Linked DNA regions of Homo sapiens: all the other regions are linked to region 1. The links are contacts of gene promoters, found by promoter capture Hi-C in blood cells and fetal thymus (Javierre and others, 2016). All regions are on one chromosome and are shown on one strand. The core of a region is centred on a gene start or on the middle of the fragment in contact, and the rest is flanking DNA. Distances in the headings are between cores, read along the strand shown.

What was found. The method cuts DNA at HindIII sites, captures the fragments that hold promoters and counts their contacts. A CHiCAGO score of 5 or more calls a contact.
Region 2: a fragment that was not itself captured here is called in contact with the fragment with the promoter of BRD8 in region 1 in 1 of 17 cell types (monocytes); the score reaches 5.5 in monocytes.
Region 3: a contact is called between a fragment that was not itself captured here and the fragment with the promoter of BRD8 in region 1, in 2 of 17 cell types (erythroblasts and fetal thymus). The highest score is 5.6, in erythroblasts.
Region 4: a fragment that was not itself captured here is called in contact with the fragment with the promoter of BRD8 in region 1 in 3 of 17 cell types (fetal thymus, non-activated CD4 T cells and total CD8 T cells); the score reaches 8.1 in fetal thymus.

The regions. Positions count from the first base shown.
Region 1 is chr5:138,176,943-138,179,879 of GRCh38, reverse strand. BRD8 (bromodomain containing 8) reads left to right here and starts at 1,250. Exons shown (of 27, transcript NM_139199.2): 1 at 1,250-1,284; 2 at 2,213-2,309. The coding sequence starts at 1,266. It overlaps KIF20A (kinesin family member 20A), which reads right to left and starts at 768. Exons shown (of 19, transcript NM_005733.3): 1 at 678-768; 2 at 35-220. The coding sequence starts at 199. RefSeq lists enhancers at 939-1,108, 1,249-1,298, 1,006-1,300. The HindIII fragment of the contact is 9,650 bases long and covers 1-2,937 here.
Region 2 is chr5:139,327,989-139,330,925 of GRCh38, reverse strand. It overlaps MATR3 (matrin 3), which reads right to left. Exons shown (of 15, transcript NM_018834.6): 15 at 1-1,581. The coding sequence ends at 1,531. Among named protein-coding and RNA genes, the nearest start is that of PAIP2, 12 kb to the left of the region's middle. The HindIII fragment of the contact is 2,281 bases long and covers 260-2,540 here.
Region 3 is chr5:139,304,029-139,306,965 of GRCh38, reverse strand. The region is part of intron 1 of MATR3 (matrin 3); the gene reads right to left. Among named protein-coding and RNA genes, the nearest start is that of MATR3, 12 kb to the right of the region's middle. The HindIII fragment of the contact is 234 bases long and covers 1,292-1,525 here.
Region 4 is chr5:139,270,327-139,273,263 of GRCh38, reverse strand. LOC124901081 (a long non-coding RNA gene) reads left to right here. Exons shown (of 4, transcript XR_007058956.1): 4 at 1-197. Among named protein-coding and RNA genes, the nearest start is that of SNHG4, 2.3 kb to the left of the region's middle. The HindIII fragment of the contact is 259 bases long and covers 1,237-1,495 here.

The DNA.
Region 1 (2,937 bases), core at 1-2,500:
ACTTTCCGCCCCAGCCACTCCCCAGTTCCTTTACCTGCTGCTTGTCCTCTAGGGAGGTAGAGACGACAGAGCAGTCTGATAGCAGGTTCTTGCGTACCACAGACCCCAAATCTGCAGCTGTGGACTCAAACATGGGAGAAACTACGACATCGTCATCGGACAGCAAGCCCGCTGGCGGAGAAAGGATCCCTTGCGACATGACGGCAGGGGCAGCCTAGGTCTAAAAAGAGACCAAAAAGTGGGCAGGGAGAAGAACCTTTAGGGACAGAAGGGGCCGCGAATTTTAGGTAATAAGTCCCTTGCCCCAGGACACCGTGTCCCGCTTCCTACTTCTTTTCCCCTCCAATTATCGGCAAAGGGGAAGGGAATGAGAGAAGTTCACTTAATGAACAATTGAGAGAAGTTTGAGGCGGCATTTCTGAACGCGAACAGAAGTCCACAGACATCTGGCTCCAAAAGCAGAAGGCTACGCCTAAAGTAGGGCACCTCGCCCGCCGGTGCTGTGGAGGTGGTGTCAGGATCCCTCGGCTCCTTCTCTAACCTCACCCCAAGGACCACCGTGAGAACAGAGATGCAGCATTAAGAGAAAAACAGATGGCTGCAGCTCCGATTTCTTAAAGCCTATTCCGCGCGGGCAAGAGCTGGTAACCCGGGCTCCAGCACAGCCGCACACTCACCCGAAGACGTGCCACTTGCTCCTCCTGGGATACTGGCTTACTCACACCTAGTCGCCGAAGCTGGACTTTCGCAGCCGCAGAGCACAACTCCGCCCACGAGGTGCAGCTTTGTTACAGATACAATATTTTAAATTACGCGCTGCGTTCGTTCGGCCAATCAGATAGGGAAGCCTGCAGCTACCAATCCGCGTAAGGAAAGGGGGCGGGCCTGACTGGAATTCCAGTCGTTCGCTTCTGCTTGACCTCTGAGTTCTAATGTGGGTCCGGGTTACCAACTGTCGTGGATTCGCACTTATTTTGCCTGGGATTCTTCCAACTTAACCTTTTTCCTTGAACCTTAGACATTTCTTACCTAAGAGCCTAAAGGAAATCTTGAGGCTTCAGCAGCCAACTCCTGTCCTTCCTTAGCAACAATCTTAACAGGAGTGCACAGGGTAACTGGTTTAGGGTGCTTGCTTTGTCTTAAGGGGAAAAACGACATTTCCCAGGAGGCACCGCGAACCAACGCCGGTACACTATTTCCCAGAATTCCAGGGTTTCGGCCCTTCCAGACCGTCTCTCCTCAGGGTTGGAGACTTCGGGGCCAAGATGGCGACGGGAACGGGCAGTGAGTATCTGAGCAGGTTTTGCGTGAAAGGCCTTTGTAGATCCGAGGCTAGGCACCATATTTTTGTTACACGCTTAGGGAGTGGGAGAAGTGGGTTGCTTGAGAGCCCAGGGTTTTCAGAGACCTGCGCTCTACAGCATCGTGAAGACCAACGTTTGGGGGCCCAGAAATCTGGGGTCTTGTTTCTCAGGGAGAGAGCGGAGGTGTGAGAGAAGCAGCTTAGTGAATCCTAGTGTGTTAGGAACTCTGCGGGTTAACCGTAAAAGCACTCTAGAAACTTGGGCGTGCAGACGAAAAGATGTTATGAGCCAGACGGAGTAACCGGCACCTCAAAGAGCCATTCATTTTTTTGTCTGACGTTTGTGAGGCAGTGGAAGTGGGGTCTTTTAACCATGAGCTTTTCTTGCCACTCAGGAAATTGCATCTCGGGGATTTCAGCCATTTTTCTTTTTTTGGACTGAAAAGCTCTTTTACCCCCGACATTTGGAGTAGAGGATCTGAGAGAAGTAAACAAGTTTATGCTAAGAGGGAGGCGGGGTAGTAGGAGGGGCTGGCCGCTCGGGTTCCTGGGAAATAAGCCCTGAATAAGTTCAAACTGGAATAAAGTCCAGTATTCTTAAAACTGGGCTTTTAGGGAGAACTGCCTAATCTGACATTCCCTGTTTCTTAATAAAGCGGAGCTTCAAGCCATGGCGTTTTAAGAAATAAAATGTTAATAATTCACATGCAACGAATAGGTACCCCGGTCACTGGTGATATTTCACTTGGAGAGGTGAAAATCAAGATTTGGTTATAGTAGCTCACTTTGTCCTAACAAGTTGGGATGTTTTGTATTAGGCTTTTAGTCCTCTTTTTGGGGATTTTGGAGCTTAGCACTACAGTCTCAGTGGTTGTTTCCAAGGCTTTTTTTTTTTTCTCCCTTTCCCAGAACACAAGCTGCTAAGCACTGGCCCCACAGAGCCATGGTCCATCCGAGAGAAGCTATGTTTAGCATCTTCTGTCATGAGAAGTGGCGATCAAAATTGGTAAGGTATCTAGGATGTCAGCTTTTCTGGGTCTTAGAAATTGTTAGATACTCTTTCACATCGGTAGATTTCTATAGTTAATCATATTAAGCTGTAAGTAGACTTTCTTTTCTTTTTCTTCTTTTTTTGAGACTGAGTCTCCTTCTGTTGCCCAGGCTGGAGTGCAGTGGTGCGGACACGCCCAGCTAATTTTTGTATTTTTTAGTAGAGACAGAGTTTCGCCATGTTGGCCAGGCTGGTCTCGAACTCCTGACCTCAGGTGATCCCCCCACCTCGGCCTGCCAGAGTGCTGGGATTACAGGTGTGAGCCACTGCGCCTGGCCATGCCTGGCTAATTTTGTATTTTTAGTAGAGACGGGGTTTCACCATGTTGGCCACGATGGTCTCAATCTCCTGACCTCATGATCTGTCCGCCTCGGCCTCCCAAAGTGCTGGGATTACAGGCGTGAGCCACTGCCAGGCCTATTTTTTTTTTTTTTTTTTTGAGACAAGATTGCACTCTGTGGCCCAGGCTGGAGGGCAGTGGTGTGATCTTGGCTCACTGCAACCTCCATATCTCAGGCTCAAATGATCCTCCACCTCAGCCTCTTGAGTAGCTGGGACTACAGGTGCACACCACCATGCCCAG
Region 2 (2,937 bases), core at 151-2,650, 1.2 Mb before region 1:
CCAGCTACTCAGGAGACTGAGGTAGGAGGGTCATTTGAGCCCAAAGGCTGAGGTTGCAGAGAACTGTGCCACTGCACTCCAGTCTGGGTGACAGAGTGAGACCCTGTGTCAGGGAAGAAAAAAAAATTGTTTACAACAGATAATCCAATATACCAAGAGTCTCTACGTAATTATTTTGAAAAGCTGCAGAACTAATTCTTGCTCATCCGTATTACTTCCAATTGTACTGTTAAGTCATCAATATCTCTAAACATAAGCTTCTGTTTGTTCACCTGTAGCATTTTTAATTCATAAGGTTTTTAAAAACCACAAATGGCCTCACTTTTAGTTATGTAACAGGAACAAGAAATCCACCAGCAACAACATTTTTAAAACTCAGATCTTTAGCGGCAGTCTTTAGAATTCACTCTAGATTTAAAAGTAATAAATTGTTAAAGCATGCACAAAGTTTAAGAGCGAATAAAAACCACAACTGACAAATACGTTGGTTAACATTCCAAACATGTATAACCAATTAACATGGCCTAGGGTTTTCTTTTTATTGGTATTCACTTCAGTAACTTGAATCCACAGATATAAGCAGTATATAACCAGAAAGTTACAAGTAAACACAAATTATACATGCAAATTTCTGTTCACAAAGGTCACATGTGCAGGTACATGAATTAGAAGCGTGCATCTAGGATTATGGCCAAACTGTTTTAAAAATGCAGAAATGTAAAATTACATCTTGAAAATATGAAGAGATGGTCTACACACTTCAAAAATCAAATGTTGCTTATACCAGAGATGTATGACAATCACGGGATTCAAGTGACAAGCAGTAAGATCTCAAAAATTAATACTGGTCAAAGATAACGGGAATATTTTTGCATTTCACTGAAAATACATTGACTACTAGAATACGAAATCTAGCAGGAACTCAGGGAAAAAAATTACAAAATCTAAAGCCAATTACTTAATATTTCTTATTACCTAAACAACAGCATGACATTAACAGAAAACTGCACCTGCATTTCAATTGCCAATCTCACGTTAATTAAGTTCTCCAAAAATGAAATGCAACCAAAACGGGTTCAAACTCCAAATGAAAGTCTGCAAGGCTCAGATTAAAACATGGAATGTTTCAGATGAAAGTAATAAAAACACTATTGGTTTTGTTCTTTATTGAATGGAATAAAATGTTGACATTTCTTTGAAACTTGGAACTACTAAATTTCATTTTTCCAAATGGTTCTACATTTTTTTCTTAGTGGTGCAAGTTGTCTTAAGTAGCTTAGGAAGTCAATCTCTACAAAGTACTTCTGTCTGTTGCCATTCTGATAAAACAAAAACTATTCATTAACTTAACCATATGTGTATTTTTTTTGCTATAACACTTAACACATGAACAGACATCTATTATTTCTCCACTAAAACAAAAGAGTACAATAGTTTTCTTCTAACTATCAGTATTGTATTTAAAAAAGGTTAACATTAAAAACAAAGAACCATTATTTTCTTTGAAATCATTAAATCTCCTTGCACATCTTAAGTTTCCTTCTTCTGTCTGCGTTCTTCTGCCAATTTATTCAGAAATTTCTATAAAGAAAGAGAATTACAGCCATTAAGTCACCTAAGAGAAATGCAGCAAAATGGATTAATTCCAAAATCAAATATCCTATATCCAAGTTTAGGGACTTAAACTATAATTTTGTCAATATTTTCAACAATTAGTTAATCCTCATTAGCACACAAAAACTTTCAGGACATTACAATAAGGCACGGGGAAAAAATGGTAAAAGGTATAAAATGGGTATTTCAAATGTTATAATTAACCCTAATTTTTAGAGATGAGAAAACAAAGACCACAGTCACACTGAACTGACACTATTCAAGAACTATGGGTTTAAATGACATGCACTTTTATTCTTTTTTTTTTGAGGGAGAGTTTTGCTCTGTTGCCCAGGCTGGAGTGCAGTGTCGTGATCTCGGCTAACTGCAACCTCCACCTCCCAGGTTCAAGTGATTCTCCTGCCTCAGCCTCCCAAGCAGCTGGGATTACAGGCACCCGCCACCAAGCCCAGTTAATTTTTTTGTACTTTTGGTAGAGACGGGGTTTTCACCGTGTTGGCCAGGCTGGTCTCAAACTCCTGATCTCAGGTGATCTGCCTGTCCCCGCCTCCCAAAGTGCTGGGATTACAGGCAAGAGCTATCACATCTGGCCTCAATGCACTACTCATTAAATCACCTGAACAAACATTTTCTTGCAAGGCCAGCAGTAAATATTTTAGACTCATTGGGCCATTCAGTCTTTGTTACAACTACTCAATCCTGCACTCAATTATAAACTAAAACAACTATAGATGACACTTAAATGATTATGGCTGTGGGTTCTAATAAAACCTTACAAAAACAGATGACTGAGCCACGAGTGTAGCTTGCTGACCCCTGCCATTAAACCTGTGACTGCTAGAGTTTCTAGACACGGGAGCTCCATTAAGACACTAATGAAAGTACAAAAGACATATTAAAAAATCTAACCTAAAATGTCCAAAGCTTCTTTCCATCTCATTGGAATTTCAACTTTATATAGTTAATGCAAAATAGTAAGAATTAAAAGCCATTATATCTTTTAAAGAAAAACAACAACAACAAAAAATCACCCCACAAACATCCAGTTAGGAAAGTATCAATTTACCATTAGCAAGTTACTGTAATGCTTAACAGTTTCTTGATGAAGGTGACAAAGTTTTTTTTTTTTTTTTAATAAAAGGAAATAATAGGCCGGGCATGATGGCTCACGCCTGTAATCCCAGCACTTTGGGAGGCTGAGGCAGGCGATCACCTGAGGTCAGAAGTTCAAGACCAGCCTGGCTAACATGGTGAAACCCCGTTTCTACTAAAAATACAAAAAATTAGCCAGGCGAAGTGGCACACGCCTGTAATACCAGCTAC
Region 3 (2,937 bases), core at 159-2,658, 1.1 Mb before region 1:
GTACATCAAAATTTCAGTAAAAATATAGATGGGTTTCTTCTTTTAGAAGAATAAAAATACACCCTATAGTATGATGCTTAAGTTCCAGAAGACTAAAAACAAAAAAATCAAGGTCAGCAAGTCAAAGATGAATCAGTTGTACTGTGCTTTGGAAAATGAGACCTATTATCACTATCAGAAAGAACCAAGTAAAATCACAAGTAAATGAAGCTTAGGTTTCAAGTACCTAATGTAAGATATAAGACCAAACATAATAGCTGAGACCTTTATACAGCAAAATCAATTTGAGGTGAAGATAGATGTGAATAAGAAAAATAAGTCATTTCCTATAGTTTTAAGGATTGCTGCCCAAATTTAAGTTATACAACTAATTGCCTTCTTACTGACCATCCTACATCAGGCAGTGTTTACTTCATATCTAGTCTTTTAAAGTAAGGAGAACTAACTCTGGTCAGTACAGGAATAGGAGCCCTCCCAAGAAAAAACCTAGGTACAGGAAATACAGGTGATTTAAAGAAGGGAACTCCCCAAATCAGCATCCATCAGTACTCATTTAATGCTCAGGGCTACAGCACATCTAGAGCACAAAACAGGTAAAAATGAAAATGAGATCTTGGTTACACAGTTTCCTGTAAACTTTTCACAAGAATAGCCCAAATCACCTGGTAAATTTATGTTCTGATTATGATCCCCCAAGACGTGTTTCTAGATGAAATTGTTTTCTTTCTTAAATCATTATTGTTGTACCTCAGAAACTGTCACATAAGAATTTCCAAATCTTTTATATCACGATTGTCATAAAATATTAGTTGAAAGATATACATAACATCTTCAGTGAAACAATTTTATAATCACAACTACATACAGAGGTAAATCTGAAGTTGTTTGGTACAGAATTCTATGAGGCATTGCTTAAATTTTCTATTTTTTGATCACCAATACACTCAGCACTGGTAGCTTAATATGTGAAACTTTAACAGTAAAACCAGACAATATCCAGTAGTTACAAGTCTATTACAGGATCAATTTCACCAATGATAGATTAAAGCAAGGATACAATGGACAAATACAGTGGCAAAGGAAGTATAAAAAAAGTTGCAGGCAAGAAAGATTTAGACTGGATTTTAAAAAATAGATATAATCAAGTTTTAAAAGACACAGAAATGCTATAAGAGGTGGCTGGAGTTACAGGAAGATGTTTTTGCACACCAAGAAAGATGAATTTGAGAAAATACACCAAAGAAACTATTAATAGTTCTAGACAAGATCCACTATGTAAACTACTTAAGCTTTAAGATTAATAAAGACGAGAATAAGTGGACTTCTTCAGATGAAAGTTTCTTTGATATGTCTTATAAATGCCAGACAGAATGGCGGCTGAGATGCTATGTAAATGGTGGTGGACCCTCTAAATTTTCACACATATTTTTACAAATCAAATCCTTTAGAGGGTTTTTCAAAATAAAAATGTTGAAGTATCAGGGTTATTAATTGCAGCTTTGACCTTCATGTTGTAGCCAAAGCTTTGCATTACTGAAAAGTCAGTCTTTTGAATTATTTTTTCCCTAAGAGAAATTATATAATGGTATTACAATTATGTTTAAAATTTTTAAAACGGCCATATTTTAAGGAAATGTGACTGTTAGACTACAGAGCTCTGAATTACATTTTTTGGTAGCTCATAGGAAAACAGTGGATCAACAAAAGGAAAAAGTTAAGAGAAGCAAAGGTAAAGGATAACCTTAAGACAAACAGAAAATGAATGTCAGAAAAACTCAGAAAAGAGTCAAGACAAACAATGTAAATCCCATGACAACGTGTAATTCCATAACCACCTTAGTAGTTTTAAGATACTCAGTTTCAACGTAAAATGCAGCTCCATCAAGGATATTAGGGTAAAATTAGTGAAAAGCAACTTAAGTTAGATTTTGGATTAAACCACAAATAAACCAAATTCTTAAAAATGGTTTTATTAGAACAAAGTTGGGAGAAACCAGATGTGGCAACATTGTTGAAAAAGCATTAATGAAAACAGTTCCTCTATCATGTCAATGCTGAACATAAGATGTACAAGCCACTTTTAAAGGCTCATTCACATGGGCCCCACTGCCTATTAGCAAAGGCAGCACAATATGGAGACACTTACTAAAGATTTACAAAAGATTAGCTCCTTTTACTGTATTGTTTTTTCCTGTAATTATAAAATTGCCTTTCTATAGGAAACTGCACTAGAGGTTAAAACAATTTTAAATATAGTAGCTTTGGGAGAACATTTATTATCAAAATCCAATTTACCTATTTAAAATCTCTATATACTAGTGTAAATGCCCATCAATGCAGAACCCTTCACTTCCAAAAAAGAAAGCACCTGCACCCCCCTAAAAACTATCAACATTACCCACAATTTCACTACACAAATGCCATTTACTACAATCTTGATAACCAAATTCTTTTTTTTTTTTTTTCAGATGGAGTTTCACTCTTGATGCCCAGGCTGGAATGCAATGGCACGATCTCAGCTCACTGCAACCTCTGCCTCCTAGGTTCAAGTGATTCTCCTGCCTCAGCCTCCCAAGTAGCTGAAATTACAGACACACACCACCACTTCCAGCTAATTTTGTATTTTTAGTAGAGACGGGGTTTCTCCATGTTGGTCAGGCTGGTCTCGACCTCAGGTGATCCCCCTGCCTCGTCCTCTCAAAGTGCTGGGATTATATAGGCATGAGCCACCACGCCTGGCCCGATAACCAAATTCTTAACAAATTAGCTTAAAAATTCATTTTTATAGGCAACTCAAAACAAACTGTAACTTAAAATTATTTTATGATACAATTTTAAGCTGTTTAAAAATGTTAGCTTCACATTCAACATCTAAACAAATCTGAGTATCATCCCTATGTATGGTTAGGAAACGTTTCAGTTAATATTCTACCTCCC
Region 4 (2,937 bases), core at 117-2,616, 1.1 Mb before region 1:
ATCCTGTAAGTTTTGCTGATCTCTTGCACCTGGCACCATTGCCAGGTGAACCCCTGGGAACCAAGCCACTGCCCTTGGCATCTGCCAACATGTTTCATTGTCTATTTCCTCAGCTCTTTCATAATGAAAAAGGTATGCTTCTTGTGCACCCCAACTCTTGCAGACCTCTCCTAAGAAAGCCCAGAGCCCCAGTTTGATTCCAGCAAGAGACCCTAGGCTGTAGGGCCAAAGAGCCACTGGAGGGGAAGTGGCAAGCTCAAATCCTCCCCAGTTTTGATGCAGTTGGACATAGGCTCTGGTTGGGAAAAGGCTTACATAAATACAGTAATTTAAAAAGTCACATGACCAGTGCTGGGCTGGTAGGCAGGAGCTCTGCTTTGCAGTTAAATAGGAATGTGGCTGAAGACTGCTGCCATAATCAATGCCCACATCCGGCTGTCACAGCGTGTTCATAAAGGAAGGTTATGAGAGCTATAAAACCAGGCAGATTGGGTGGGTAATTGTCCTACCGAGCTCTGCTAAAGGAGAAATTGCATTGGCATCTCATATATTTCGCTTTCTTTCCTTCCAAACACACAAAGTGGAGAGGGCAGAGCTACCCTGAAGATTCATGAAAAGGAAAGATAGGGTGTGTGTGTGTGTGTGTGTGTGTGTGTGTATGTGTGTGTGTGAATGTGCATGTGTGCTTTCAGAGAAGAGACAAGAAGTAACTGAGGACAGGGAGCTATGCAGACCTTTGGGGAGAGAGGGACCAATAATCTGGTGATGACTGGATTCAGATTAGTCCAGGTAGAAGGCAGGATTTATGTGGAAGGCCAGCCATTATAAATAAGGCTGTGAGGTAAGCCATATTTTCATGTCCTGTTGAACAAGTGGTCAACTTTTTGGGCTATAGGTCTTTCAATGACCTTTGGAGAAAAACCTAGATGAAGATTTTGTTTCCAACTTAAAAATCCTTCATAGTCAACCTTTTTGACTTCCATCCTTTTAAATTCTGAATTAATTTTGATGGGTTGATTTATGTTTTTTTTACCTGTAATATCAACTATTTTTCTACTTTTTTGTTTCTTCTTGCAAAGACAAAATTATTGAGAATAATAACAAAAAATAAAAGGGAACATTTCTAGAAAAAAAGATGCAGCTAGATGGAAAGCAAAGGACTAGGGGAAGTCCATTAGCTCTGAGTTTGACCTCATAACTTAAAGCTGACCTCAAGTGACACCAGGTCCCCAAGCTTCTTCCCTGCCTTTCTCTTTATCCTCCATCTCTCCTCTCATTCCTGCTTCCCTCCTTGATGCTTTCTGCCTCTAAGACTGCTCTTTTTCTTTCTCCCTGAACAGGGAGAAAAACCACCAGTAGAGAAATATCTAGTCATTTGTTCAGTTAGTCAGTCACTCAGTCAATCAACATTTACGAAACATCTATCATGTGCCAGACTCTGTTCAGATGCTGCAGATAAAGTCAGAACAATAGAGATTCCTGCCTGCCTAAAGCTTACAGTCTAGAGGAGAAGAATGACAAGTACTATATGTATACTTGGTCACATGTCTGGGGGCAGCTAACATAGCCTAGGGGGTCAGGAAGAGTACTAGAGATAGCTGTATTCTCTCTGGCTGATCCTAAGGGCTTAGAGTAGAGGAGGGACCCCTCCTCCATCCCTGCACTCCTCTTGCTGCTATGTACTAGCTACCCAATTAGAGTGGGGCTCTTCAGTTGTCCTTGTTATTTCTCAAAAGCATAGTTGGATTGGCAAGGATGTGGAGAAATTGGAACCCTCATACACTGCTGGTGGGAATGTAAAATGGTGCAGCTGCTTTGGAAAACCGTCTGGCAGTTCCTCAAATGATTAAACACAGAGTTACTTTATGACTCAGCAATTCCAGTCCTAGGTATGTACCCAAGAGAAATTAAAGCCCGTCACACAAAAGCCTATACAGAAATGTTTACAGCAGCATTATTCATAATAGCCCTCCAAAACCAAACGTTCATTACTTGATGAATGGATAAACAAAATGTGGCATATCCACACAATGGACTATTACTTGGCCATAAAAGGGAATTAATCCTGTAATCCCAGCACTTTGAAGAGGCTAAGGCAAGAGGATTGCTTGAGCCCAGGAGTTCAAGACCAGCCTGGGCAACATAGAGATGGGACCCCATCTCTACAAAAAATAAAAAAATTAGGTGGGCATGGTGATACACAACTGTAGTCCCAGCTACTTTAGGGGGCTAAGGTGAGAGGATTGCTTAAGCCTGGGAGATTGAGGCTGCAGTGAGCTGTGATCATGCCATTGCACTCCAGCCTGAGTGACAGTGAAACTCTGTCTCAAAAAAAAAAAAAAAAAAAAAAGAGGCCAGGCGTGATGGCTCACACCTGTAATCCTAGCACTTTGGCAGGCTGAGGCAGGCGGATCACTTGAGGTCAGGAGTTTGAGACCAGCCTGGCCAACATGGTGAAACCCCATCTCTACTAAAAATACAAAATATTAGCTGGGTGTGGTGGCTTGTGCATGTAGTCCCAGCTACTTGGGAGGCTGAGGCAGGAGAACGGCTTGAACCCGGGAGGCGGAGATTGTAGCAAGCAGAGATGGAGCCACTGCACTTCAGCCTGGCAACAGAGCAAGACTCTGTCTCAAAAGAAAAAAAGAAAAAAATGAATCATGTACTGATTCATGCTATAACATAGATGAACCTTGAAAACATTAAGATAGGCAGGGTGCAGTGGCTCACGCCTGTAATCCCAGCACTTTGGGAGGCCGAGGCGGGTGGATCACAAGGTCCAGAGATCGAGACCATCCTGGCTAACACAGTGAAATCCCGTCTCTACTGAAAAATAGAAAAAATTAGCCAGGCATGGTGGCAGGAGCCTGTAGTCCCAGCTACTCAGAAGGCTGAGGCAGGAGAATGGCGTGAACCCAGGAGGCGGAGCTTGCAGTG